3 separate regions of the Homo sapiens genome follow, and regions 1 and 2 are each linked to region 3. Evidence: promoter capture Hi-C in 16 types of primary human blood cells and fetal thymus (Javierre and others, 2016). All regions are on one chromosome and are shown on one strand. The core of a region is centred on a gene start or on the middle of the fragment in contact, and the rest is flanking DNA. Distances in the headings are between cores, read along the strand shown. Region 1 has its middle 4.9 kb from the start of RENO1. Region 2 overlaps BAHCC1 (BAH domain and coiled-coil containing 1). Region 3 holds the start of LINC01977 (long intergenic non-protein coding RNA 1977).

Region 1 (4,252 bases), core at 1,557-4,056, 1.5 Mb before region 3:
TCCCAGCTACTTGGGAGGCTGAGGTGGGAGGATTGCGTGACCCTGGGAGGTGGAGGCTGCAGTGACTCCTGTGCTGTACTACAGTGACCCTGCTGCTGTACTCCCTGTCTCAAAACACTCCACAAAACCAAACGAGCCCAATTTTTTATTTATTTATTTATTTATTTTTGAGACGGAGTCTTGCTCTGTCACCCAGGCTGGAGTACAGTGACGCGATCTCGGCTCACTGCAAGCTCCGCCTCCTGGGTTCACGCCATTCTCCTGCCTCGGCCTCCCAAGTAGCTGGGACTACAGGCGCCCGCCACCACGCCCGGCTAATTTTTTGTATTTTTAGTAGAGATAGGGTTTTACCGTGTTAGCCAGGATGGCCTCGATCTCCTGACCTCGTGATCCACCCGCCTCGGCCTCCCAAAGTGCTGCGATTGAGAGGTGACAGCGTGTGGCAGTCCTCACAGCCCTCGCTCGCTGTCGGCGCCTCCTCTGCCTGGGCTCCCACTGGCGGCACTTGAGGAGCCCTTCAGCCCGCCGCTGCACTGTGGGAGCCCCTTTCTGGGCTGGCCAAGGCCGGAGCCGGCTCCCTCAGCTTGCGGGGAGGTGTGGAGGGAGAGGCGCGAGAGGGAACTGGGGCTGCGTGCGTCGCTTGCGGGCCAGCTGGAGTTCCGCGTGGGCTTGGCGGGCTCCGCACTCGGAGCAGCCGGCCGGCCCTGCCAGCCCCGGGCAATGAGGGGCTTAGCACCCGGGCCAGCGGCTGCGGAGGGTGTGCTGGGTCCCCCAACAGTGCCGGCGCACCGGCGCTGCGCTGGATTTCTCGCCAGGCCTTAGCTGCCTTCCCGTGGGGCAGAGCTGGGACCTACAGCCTGCCATGCCTGAGCCTCCCGTCCCCGCCCCGCGCCCCCCACCCGTGGGCTCCTGTGCAGCCCGAGCCTCCCCGACGAGCGCCACCCCCTGCTCCACGGCGCCCAGTCCCATCGACCACCCAGGGGCTGAGGAGCGTGGGCGCACGGCGCGGGATTGGCAGGCAGCTCCACCTGCAGCCCCAGTGCGAGATCCACTGGGTGAAGCCAGCTAGGCTCCTGAGTCTAGTGGGAACTTGAAGAACTTTATGTCTAGCTAAGGGATTGTAAATACACCAATCGGCACTCTGTATCTAGTCCAAGTTTTGTAAACACACCAATCAGCACCCTGTGTCTAGCTCAGGGTTTGTGAATGCACCAATCGACACTCTGTATCTAGCTACTCTGGTGGGGCCTTGGAGAACCTTTGTGTAGACACTCTGTATCTAGCTAATCGGGTGGGGACGTGGAGAACCTTTGTGTCTAGCTCAGGGATTGTAAACACACCAATCAGTGCCCTGTCAAAACAGACCACTGGGCTCTACCAATCAGCAGGATGTGGGTGGGGCCAGATAAGAGAATAAAAGCAGGCTGCCCGAGCCAGCAGTGCCAACCTGTTCTGGTCTGCTTACACGCTGTGGAAGCTTTGTTCTTTCGCTTTTTGCAATAAATCTTGCTACTGCTCACGCTTTGGGTCCACACTGCCTTTATGAGCTGTAACACTCACCCCGAAGGTCTGCAGCTTCACTCTTGAAGCCAGCGAGACCACGAGCCCACCGGGAGGAAGGACAACTCCAGACGCGCTGCCTTAAGAGCCGTAACACTCACCGCGAAGGTCCGCAGCTTCACTCCTGAGCCAGCGAGACCACGAACCCACCAGAAGGAAGAAACTCCGAACGCATCTGAATATCAGAAGGAACAAACTCCAGACACGCCGCCTTTAAGAACTGTAACACTCACCGTGACGGTCCACGGCTTCATTCTTGAAGTCAGTGAGACCAAGAACCCACCAATTCCAGATACAGGATTACAAGTGTGAGCCACCGTGCCCGGCCTCTATTTATTTTTTATAATTTTTGAGACAGAGTCTTACTTTGTTGTCCAGGTTGGAGTGCAATGACGCAGTCCTGGCTCACTGCAACTTCTGCCTCCCGGATTCAAGTGATTCTCCTGCCTCAGCCTCCTGAGTAGCTGGGATTACAGGCACCCGCCACCACGCCCAGCTCATTTTTGTATTTTTAGTAGGGACAGGGTTTCACCATGTTGGTCAAGCTGGTCTCAAATGCCTGACCTCAAGCAATCCACCCGCCTTGGCCTCCCAAAATGCTGGGATTACAGGCGCGAGCCACTGTGCCCAGCCCCAAAGCTTATTTTTATTTGTTCACATGAATGCAGTTTTCTTGGTTATTATTTCTGAATCTTCTTGTAAATTTTTGAATACTACCTAAAATTATGAGGAAGGAAGCAAAAATCTGAGTTCACTTCCCCAGATTCTTTTTTTAAAGAACAAAATCTCTTTTCTCTCTGAAGCTATTACTGGTGTTTTTGAACACTGTGTGTTCTGAAACTCTTGCTCAGTGCAAGTTACACAACTGTAGCAAATAGACCCCAAACGTAGCTGCCCATGCCAGCCCGCGGCTTATTTATCCCTGACCTGCCCAAGCAAGTGCTCCTGCGGGGTGGGGCCTGGTTGGGCCCCAGGCTGAAGGCTGCCCTGTCATCTTGCACATTTGTCTTCCACAGTCTCTCTGATGTGCCCATTTCAGCCATCAGAAGGGGGAACCCTAAAAGCCTCCTGGAAGGGTGACCTGCTCCTGAAACTGGTGCACACTGCTTCTGCCAGATTCTGTTGGACACCACGGTTACCCAGCCACACCTACTGCGAGGGAGCCTGGGAATGCAGACCAGCCAGGGGCCCCATGAGAAGGGGTAACGGCTTCTGTTGGACAGCCGGACGGCAGCCAGCCAGCCCTTGGCCTCCAGACATCTGTGAGACCCACCCTTCCTCCACACATCGTGTTAGAAAAAGTCACCATCATCTCCAGGGAGAAGACCCAGCCCAAAGCCTGCCTCTCTAGGATGGGCAGAGCCTTTCCGTGGGTCCCGATGACTGTCTTCCGGGTCCAACTGACAGATGATTCATTAAGCCATCTGCTCCCCTCCCCCCGCAACCTGAGCCTTCATCTGATCTTTGCCGTAGGCCTGCACACTTTTGTTGGACTGAGCTGCCTGAGTGACAGGCCTTGAACAGCCACCATCTTTTCTCCTACTGTTTGAGGCATAAACAGTGGCTTTTTCAACCTGGGAGTCCCAACTTTCTGGGGTAACTCTAATTGCAAACCGGCCCTCAATTTCTGGAAACAGTAGTCAAGCTACAGGGAATGAGTGCCTCGCGCTAACCTTCTGGCTCTTTCCTCCCTCTTCCCAGCGTTCCCAAGCCTTTACCTCGGCACACCAGGGGACGTGTGGCATCATCTTCAATTCACCACATCCGTTTCCCTGTATCCCCAAGTGCCAGGGCAGGTGTATCAGTCGGCTTTTGCCACAACAGTGCTGCATAACGACGACCTTAAAGCTTGGTGGCCGAGTCTCACGCTCACAGGGCTAGGGCCGACCTCCACCTGGCCAAGCCCCTGGCCTCCGGGTTCTGGGATGTGGGCTGGGCTGAGGTCCGCCCAGGTTTCTCGCTTCTTGGAGCCCCCGTCAGTTATCTGCGTTCTCCATTCTTCTCTGGGGCACAGCCTGCTTGTAGTGGGTCCCTGGCAAGCAGGAAGACCAGGCTGCCCTTGCTGGCACATTCCAAACCTTTGCCCATTTCAAATCTGCTACCTTCCCACTAGCCAGAGCACGTCACTCGCCAAGCCCAAAGTCAAGGGAGGAGAGCCCACCCACCACCTAGAGACCACAGCAAGCAGACGGATGTAAAATTCTGCTACGGGGGAGTGAAAAACCAATGATTAAATTGCTAATTGAATTGTAAGTTAAACTGCTCTGAGGCATAGACGCTGGTGTAAATGCCTAAACAAAAGAGAAGTGGATTTCTCTCTTGACAACCATGGCAGGGTTTCCGTTTGACAATGGCCTTGATTCTTGCAGTCACTCAGAGCCCTAGGCTGAGGGTGACTCTGCTGTCCTCAAGCGAAGCTTCCTGTGTCACCCTGGTTGTTGCCAGGCCCTGGGAAAGGAAAAGTTAATGGAGGGCCTTTTGGGCCAGTCACAGGAGAGGCACACGTCACTGCTGTCACCTCCACTGCAGGTGGCCACCTGGCCACACCCCTTGCCAGGGAACCTGGCAGATTCAGTCTAGCCCAGGCCAAGGAGGAGGGGCACCCAATCTCGCTGTACAGCGCCGGCTCTGCGCTAGTTAGTTCGCTCGTGTTAGTTCTTCAGTTTGTGGTGCGTCCTTGGGGTTGGTGATC
Region 2 (4,351 bases), core at 1,849-4,348, 1.6 Mb before region 3:
GCTCAGGTCTCTTGGGTCTCCGGTCTGGGCATCCCCCATCTCTTCTTCCCTGGATCTGCTCACTCTCACCCATGCCATGTGTTAAGAACAGGAGGCGCCCCTGGTTGCAGAAGTCTCAGGGGAAGAAAGCAAAGCTTCAACTGTGCTCCAAGGACCGGAGAGAGAGGGAGTCGCACTGAGACCCGACTTCCCTTGAAGACGCCAGCAGGCTGGTTTCTTTCTTACTTAATATGGCTAAGGCTTCTCTTTTTTGGTGGGGTACCCCAAGAAGGCACTGCCCCCCAATGTCACCCTCCGCTTCAGGGAGCCCAGCCTGCTGCTCAGAGGACCCTATTGGAAGCACACCCATCCCCCATTTCTGGAAATTTCCACTGGAAAACCATGTCCCTGCACTGAGCTGGGGCAAGGGGCTGCTCTGCCGTTCCTCACAGTTGCAAGTGACAGTGGGTCTCCCACAGACCCCGGAGAGGGGCAGCACTTCCGGCCAGCCTCAGAGTCCCCGCATCTCAAGACACTGGACTTTTTCTTGGGGGATCCTAGGGGAGAGAAGGGAAGGCAGGAACCCAGCCCACCTGTTTGTCCCTCCCTTCCTCGCCACAGCAGGTCAGAATGAAAAAAACCCACTTCCTGGCTGATCCGATCGGGAACCTAATCGTGTGGACAGCTGCAGCATGCCAGCCCGGCTGGCTCCCAGCTTGGGCGCTGGACGCCTCCCCACCAGACCCGAGGCTCGCTGCAAACCCCGCGCCGACCTCATAACCAGGACCTGGGCGCCGCCTGCCCCCAGCGCCTGCCACCACATCCCCTCAGCGCACACCTAGCGCCCACCATCCCTGGATTCTCCCGCGGCAGCTGCTCTGGGGCCACGGGAGGCAGTAATATTATAGATTACAACAAACAGGGGCAGCCCACTGACAAATAGGCCTGCGTGAGCGAAACGGTATATTATCCCATAAAAACGTCAGCGGGCGGAGCCCGAGCGGAGTGCGGTCCCACGCCCGAGGCCCTTCCAGGCCCCATCCTTTGCAGAAGGGCCTGGGCTGCGGGTGATTTTCCAGACACTGCACGCTGGCTCTGATGTTTTTTTTGCTTGTTACACTGTGTCTTCGGTGAGGGGAAATGAGGTCCCAGAGGTTAATGGGGACCGGGGAACCCCAGGGAAGCCGTTCCCAGGTGGGCGGGGAGCGGGGGCTGGGAGGGGGAATGCAGAGCAAGTAACCCACCTACCCAACAGACAGGGGCGTGCTCTGAGTCCAAGCCCATTCACAGCACGTCTGCGAGGTGGGGGACACAAGGGGAGGCCATCTCCCCTCAAGGAGGCTGTCCAGGAGCCAAGGGTTTCGGACCCTCCCCTGGACAGGCCAGGACGAGCCTGCCTCCCTCCTCAGGGGAACAAGGCAGTGCCTGTCTTGAGGGAGGGCTTCTTTTTGGAAACCTCTCATTCAGGATGAACCCATTAAGAAGGCAGGCAGCTTCTGTTGTTTGAGGGTGTCAGGAGGGCAAGGGGGCACCCCAAAGGCTGGGCGGTATTTTCTCGAGGGACTCCCTAGGCAGAGGCTGGCCCTGCTGCTACCCAGGAGGAGTCCCTGTATCGCTTCCACAGCAGCTGATGGGCAACCAGGCCCCTCTGAGAAGACCACTCCAAAAGAGGGCATATGCCATGTACTGAGCTCAGGGGGTTGGGGGAGACTCTCCGGTGGGGCGTTGGCCAGGACAATCACAGTAGCTGCCTCACAGGATCCAGAGGGCAGAGGACAGAGGACAGGTCCCATTTGTTATGGGCCTATATTCAGGTATTTATGGTAGGGAGGAAGCCAGACCGGGGGGCCCAGAAGCCTCTTCCAGAAGGAAGGGCAGGGGGGCACGATGGAGCAAGGCTTTCTTCCACCAGGAAAGTATTTATTCCCAGCGGCACTGGCTGAACTCTATCTGTGCTTGGGAATTCCCAGCCCAGGGACATGGACAGTCTCGGGCTCAGACCCTGGAGCTAGATCAGGGTATTCTGGGAAATATAGTCCTTTGGGAGTTAGAAGGCCCTGCCAGGATTGGGGGCGGGGGAGGCAGATTGAGTTAAGAAACAGCCAAGGAAGAGGAGGGAGTAAAGGGAGTTACCCTTACTCCAACCCCAGGGTGGATGTTTAAAACTCCTGGGAAGTGGCTATATATAAACATCTGCTGCCTCAAAAGACACCAGAGGCCGGGCACGGTGGCTCACACCTGTAATCCTAGCACTTTGGGAGGCCAAGGTGGGCAGATTGCTTGAGCTCAGGAGCTCAAGACCAGCATGGGAAACATGGTGAAACCCCGTCTCTACTAAAAATACAAAAAATTAGGGCGTGGTGGTACATGCCTGTAATCCCAGCTACTTGGGAGACTGAGGCACGACAATGGCTTGAACCAGGGAGGCAGAGGTTGCAGTGAGGCAGTGAGCCAAGATTGTGCCACTGCACTCCAGCCTGGCAGACAGAGCCAGACTGTCTCAAAAAACAAAAACAAAACAAAAACAAAAACAAAACACACCAGACGATGCTACTATTCTAGCTTCAGATCATATCCACAGTGGCTTTTCTGGTCAAGTAGTTCTGGGGACTCTTATTTTCGTGGGGAGACCTAAAAAGTCCGCAGAGAGGAGGCACCCCAACCAAACCACCCAGGATGAAAGCAGCATTCAGTGATTCCCCACGACTGTTCTCCGGTCCCTGCCTCCAGACACACAGAGAGAAGGAGAACAAAGGTGCCCGCCAGGGGACAGAGGTGCTACCTGCCACGCCTCAGCCTCCAGGAGAGACTGCAGCTGTCCCAAGCGCTCGCACATTATTTATGCTCACAGCCAGCTCTGATGACATATGTAAGTTGACAGCGAACATCCTATCAACTTGCTGGAGTGTATCCTGATTGTTAAAACACTCTTAAAGGTGTACAATCATTTATCAAATTAAAATAGCCGTGCCTTGCCAGTTCTTTTTCTGCCTTCCTGGATGGAACCCCCAATAGTCTCCATCCTCCTCCAGCCTCCTGGGTAATCTGCCCTTGCACCCAGGCCCTGCTTCTCAGGGGACAATGACCCTGCTGCCAGGAGCCCCAGCCTCGGCATCCCCTCCCCACTCTGGCCCAGGCCAGGGCAAGACCACTAATCGCCAAGAAGTGACAAACGCCAGAAGCCCCACCAATTAAATTTAAACTCATGCAAAGCTCAGTGGCTAGTAAATTATTATTTTTATTAGCTTGAACCAAGTTCCCGTAAGAGAGAAAGTCAACTTGCTCCCATGAATGGCTCTTGTATAATTTATTTAACTCTGTGCTCTTTGCCAAAGCCTGGAATATTTTTAGCTCGTTCTGTTGTTGGATTTGGCTTTTTTATGTGTGTTTCTGAGGGGTATTTTTAGCCTCATCCATGTTATTCTAACAGCCTCCTATGCATTTTGTCCTGTCTGTGGGGGCTGTTGAACCCTGTCTCACAGGGAGATGAGAGAAGATTTCTAAGAATAACCGGGGAACGTTTGGGGGGACGCGCGTTTTCCAGGGGAGATGTGCTATTTGCACAACGCCGTTCTCTGCCTGGCTCACTAATTTGCCTTATTACTCACGTGACCTGGATATTCCTACAGAAAGCGCGGCGGCTCCGTACCGGGATAATCAGACGTGGTGGCAGCACGAGCCCCACTGGGGGAAACCCACATTCCAAACAGGGCTTCGGCGGGGCGGGCGTGGCGGGCCACCGCCGCCGGTCCACGCGGCCCCACATTCCCGGATTCCCGTAGCTCCTTTGGGCTCGCGGCAACTTTGATGTCTAACTCTGTCACTTATGGAGCGGGACGGGTGACGTCTTCGGAAAGTAACTCTTTTCACACCTACTTAATGTTGCTAACTGTTGCAGAAACACTCCATCGTGTCATGGAGTTAATGAGGTATTTAAGAAAATGTATTTTTTTCTTTACAAAAAAATATCACATGATGAGGGAGAGGAGCCTGTGATGGGGTCTTTTCACACTAGGAAATTATCTTTTTTTTTCCTCTGCCAAGTTGGGGGTATTTTTTGGTTGTGTTTTTTGGTATTTTCTTTTTCTTTTTTTTTTTTTGAGATTGGCGGTAGGAAGCACTTTTTCAGCAGGAAAGAAGTAGTTTGCAGTTCTCCCACCAGAAGGAGCCTTCGCCTTTCTCCCACAATAACCCCAGGCTCAGAGCACCTGGTTTCCCAGGCTTCAGCAATTTACACCCCAAAGAAGACAAGAGAAGGGGCGGGAGGGGAATCTGAGCAGATTATTGAAACCAAGATGAGAAATAGTGCCTTGGTGGAGCCCTGGCCCCTGGAGAGGGGAGGCGTACAGACCAGGACAGGAGCGGGCCCAGC
Region 3 (4,295 bases), core at 1,067-3,566:
AGGGCGGAAGTCCCAGGGGTTGGTCCAGGAGGGAAACACACACAAACATACCAAATCATCATCATAACCAAGACCAGGGACGGCGCAGGGTCAGCTCCACGGGGAGTGTAAGTCATCTGCCCCTCCCAGAGGAAAGGGTTGGCCCATTGATGGTGGAGTGATAGCTCCTGGAAGCTCAGAACAGAGAGGGACCAGGGGGTTTCTATTCCAAGCCCTTTGTTCTACAATGGGGAAAGTGAGGCCCCAAAGACAAAAGTCAACATCAAGGTGAATGATTGACATCATCACCTTGGCAATGATGATGTCATTGCCAAGACATCATCGTTGGGCAAGAGAGACCATTCTTTGCCCACAAGTGGATATCTGAGTTCCAGTCAGGAACAGTGTTTACCTGTCTACCAGCTATAAAATTAGGTATAGTAATAGGAATGATGATAACATAATTCAAAGTTCAATGCCGAAGCAGTGAGTGAGTGGTCAAGTGTGGCTGTTAGAGGGCCGTGGTCTGGCTTCCATTCTCCAGACTGTGGTTTGGGGCCTAACCCAGAAAGATGTGAGGGTCTGGTCTTCCTCCAATCCGGTGACCACCAAGTGGAGAGGAAGGCTGCTGTGGGCCCCGTCCTTCAAAGGGTGAGAAACCTGCTAACCTCAGAGCTGGGAGTTGACTCTGCCTTGGCAGGCAGACAGACAGTATTTGCTCAGCTGTAGCCAAACCACAGCGAACCTCAGCCCTAGGTCCACAGGGGAGTAGGGGTCTGTGTGCCCTCCTGTGCAAGAGGACCTATGGGTGGGCAGAAGGCAGTTAGATGGCAGGGAGAGGAGCTTTCCTATGGAATGCTTGGTCCTGAAGCCAGCCCTTTCTCCTGGGCCTGGAGATGAGTTCCTGGATGAGTCTCGCCTAGGGTAGAGTATGAGGCCTCCAAGGTCCAGCTCCGCAGAGGGAACTCTCCTCACTTCCATTTTAATCCTCTTAGGAAAGAAGTGAGAACCAGAGGGTGCACCTTGCAGTCTTTAGCTGTAGGTTAACCTGGTGGTTGATCCATGTGGCACTTGCAGTCATGGACATTTCAGTGTTTTGGAGAGAGAATAAGAAAGGGATGAGACAGGGATAAAATCAAGGGAGAAGGCGGCAGCAGGGAGAGAGGAAACCAAGAGAAGAGCAGAGATAAAGACAGAGACAGAAACAGAGGTCAGGAAGCCAAAGGGTCGGGGACCAAACACCAGAGAAACATCATAACAGAAACAGACAGAAGCAGGCGAGGAGCACCCAGGATGACCGGGGTGCCCAGGACAACGACGAGGAAGACACAAAGGCCCAGAGGAGGCGGGAAATGGTGCGAATCAAAAACACCGCACTGGGCAGCCATAAAAAAGAACGACGTGGGCCAGGTGCGGCGGCTCACGCCTGTAATCCCCATACTTTGGGAGGCTGAGGCGGGAGGATCACCTGAGACCAGGAGTTCGAAATCAGCCTGGCCAACATGATGAAACCCCATCTCTACTAAAATTACAAAATTAGGCCAGGCGCGGTGGCTCACGCCTGTAATCCCAGCACTCTGGGAGGCCGAGGCGGGCGATCACGAGGTCAGGAGATCGAGACCATCCTGGCTAACACGGTGAAACCCCATCTCTACTAAAAATACAAAAAATGAGCCTGGTGTGGTGGCGGGTGCCTGTAGTCCCAGCTACTTGGGAGGCTGGGGCAGGACAATGGTGTGAACCCGGGAGGCGGAGCTTGCAGTGAGCCGAGATGGCGCCACTGAACTCCAGCCTGGGCGACACAGCGAGACTCCATCTCACAAAAAAAAAAAAAAAAAATTACAAAAATTAGCCAGGCGTGTTGGTGTGCACCTGTAGTCACAGCTTTTCAGGAGGCCGAGGCACGAGAATCACCTGAATCCTGGAGACAGAGGTTGCAGTGAGCCAAGATTGTGCCACTGTGCTCTAGCCTGGGTGACAGATTGAAACTCCATCTAAAAAAAAAAAAAGAAAGAAAGAGATCACGTCCTTTGCAGGGACATGGATGGAGCTGGAGGCCATTGTCCTCAGCAAACTAACGCAGGAACAGAAAACCAAACACCACATGTTCTTACTTATAAGTGGGAGTTAAATGATGAGAACACATGGACACATAGAAAGGAACAACACACACGGAAGTCTTTTGGAGGGTGGAGGGTGGGAGGAAGGAGAGGATCAAGAAAAACAGCTAATGGGTACTAGGTTTAATACCTGGGTGAGGCTGGGCACGGTGGCTGAAGCCTGTAATCCCAGCACTCTGGAAGGCTGAGGCGGGCGGATCACGAGGTCAGGAGATCGAGACCATCCTGGCTAACACGATGAAACCCTGTCTCTACTAAAAATACAAAAAATTAGCTGGGCATGGTGGCGTGCGCCTGTAGTCCCAGCTACACGAGAGGCTGAGGCAGGAGAATGGCGTGAACCCGGGAGGCAGAGCTTGCAGTGAGTGGAGATCGGGCCACTGCACTCCAGCCTGGGCAACAGAGCGAGACTCCGTCTCAAAAAAGAAAAAAAAAATACCTGGGTGATGAAATAATTTATGCCACAAACCTCCACGCCGCAAGTTTACCTACGTAACAAACCTGCACTTGTACCCCTGAACTTAAAATAAAAGTTAAAAAAAAATCACATTGGAAGGATCAAAGCCAGTGTTACCAATCATGGGCCAAACTGCCATCGTGGGCCTCCCAACACTGAGAAGCCGCACCCAGAAGTCCGTAGTGTCATTCCAGCGGTTTTCCCGCCAGAACGCAGCGCCCGAATCCAACCACGAAGAAATCCCAGATGCGTACTCTTCAGAAGCCAAGGTGAAAGAACACAGAGAGAGGCCAAGGTCCTGCCCAGCGCAAAGGAGACCAGAGGGAGAGGGCGCAGAATGAGCGCAGGATCCTTTGCTCTTGGAACAGAAAAGAGAAGTGAGTTATAAAGAGCATTATTGAGGAGACTGAGAAAACGGCATCTGGACTGTGGGTTAGACAACAGTATTGGATTGATGTTAAACATCCTGATTCTGGCCATTGCACTGTGGTTGTTGTGTAAGATCTTGTCCTTGATCTCAGGGAAAACACACTACCCCAAAGTATGCAGGCAGAAAGGGCACAAGGTCTCCAATGGACTCTCAAATGGTTCAGAAAAAAATATGTGGGAAGGCCGGACGCGGTGGCTCACACCTGTCATCCCAGCATATTGGGAGGCTGAGGCAGGCGGATCACCTGAGGTCAGGAGCTTGAGACCAGCCTGGCCAACATGGTGAAACCTCGTCTCTACTAAAAATACAAAAAATTAGCCGGGCGTGGTGGCCGGTGCCTATAATCCCAGCTACTTGGGAGGCTGAGGCAGGAGAATTGCTTGAACCCGGGAGGTGGTGGTTGCAATGAGCCGAGATCGCGCCTGGGTAACAAGAGGGAGACTCCATCTCAAAACAAACACAAACACACACACACACACACACACACACACACACACACACACACACACACAGAATAGAGAGAGCACCAATGACAAAGCAGATGGGCAAATGTCAACAACTGGTAAATCTAGATAAAAAATATAGGCAAGTTCCTTTACTCATCTTGCAGCTTCTCTGTAAGTTGGCCAAAAATGCTGAGCTGAGATTTAAAATAGGTTCTTCGGAGTGCCTCCTTGGGGCTGGGGATAGGCGCTGGCCCTGGAGCCTCACGGCAGGCCTGGGAAGGACCGCAAGTGCCTCCCTACCTGGGCCAAGCGGAGAGTCCCAAACTGCTGCGGCTGTGAATGGCCTGGGTGGGTCGTCTGCCTGCGCATGCATTTTCAGATCCTTCACCCCATGTCCTCAACACAAATGAACAGGATTCTGGGAGGGTGAGGACACTGGCACCAGGGCCCTGTACCAGGAGGCTCCTGGCCACCTCCAGCTCAGCCTGGCCCCTCCCACTGCACAGCTTAGCCCCACCTTTGGCCAACCACAATTCTTTGGCCAAGTGGGAAAGCAGGATGTGGCAGAAAGAGCAAGGATTAGGGGTTCAGGCAAGACCAGTCGTGGGTACCAGCTGCTCTGCATTTCCTAGCTCTGTGCCCTGGCACTGATGGCTCTGCCCCCAGACCTGCCCAAGGCCAGCTCATTGTTACCATTTAGTCCCCTAAATGCCACCTCTCAAGAGAAGCCGTCCCCAACCACCGGCCTAAAGTGGACTGCATCTCACTCCCCAGTTGTTCTTCTTAGAGCAGCTGTTCTTATCTGAAATTATTGATCTGTTGACTTGTCTCCTGCCCCCACTAGAATGTAAACACCGTGAGAG

What was found. The method cuts DNA at HindIII sites, captures the fragments that hold promoters and counts their contacts. A CHiCAGO score of 5 or more calls a contact.
Region 1: a fragment that was not itself captured here is called in contact with the fragment with the promoter of LINC01977 in region 3 in 1 of 17 cell types (total B cells); the score reaches 5.4 in total B cells.
Region 2: a fragment that was not itself captured here is called in contact with the fragment with the promoter of LINC01977 in region 3 in 2 of 17 cell types (total B cells and naive B cells); the score reaches 5.8 in total B cells.

The regions. Positions count from the first base shown.
Region 1 is chr17:81,348,775-81,353,026 of GRCh38, reverse strand. No RefSeq gene overlaps it. Among named protein-coding and RNA genes, the nearest start is that of RENO1, 4.9 kb to the right of the region's middle. RefSeq lists an enhancer at 4,089-4,252. The HindIII fragment of the contact is 1,209 bases long and covers 2,202-3,410 here.
Region 2 is chr17:81,403,210-81,407,560 of GRCh38, reverse strand. All of the region lies in intron 2 of BAHCC1 (BAH domain and coiled-coil containing 1), which reads right to left. Among named protein-coding and RNA genes, the nearest start is that of MIR4740, 4.6 kb to the right of the region's middle. RefSeq lists an enhancer at 1,419-1,973. The HindIII fragment of the contact is 5,924 bases long and covers 137-4,351 here.
Region 3 is chr17:79,821,473-79,825,767 of GRCh38, reverse strand. LINC01977 (long intergenic non-protein coding RNA 1977) reads right to left here and starts at 2,316. Exons shown (of 3, transcript NR_146504.1): 1 at 2,230-2,316; 2 at 1,894-1,973. The HindIII fragment of the contact is 24,167 bases long and covers 1-4,295 here.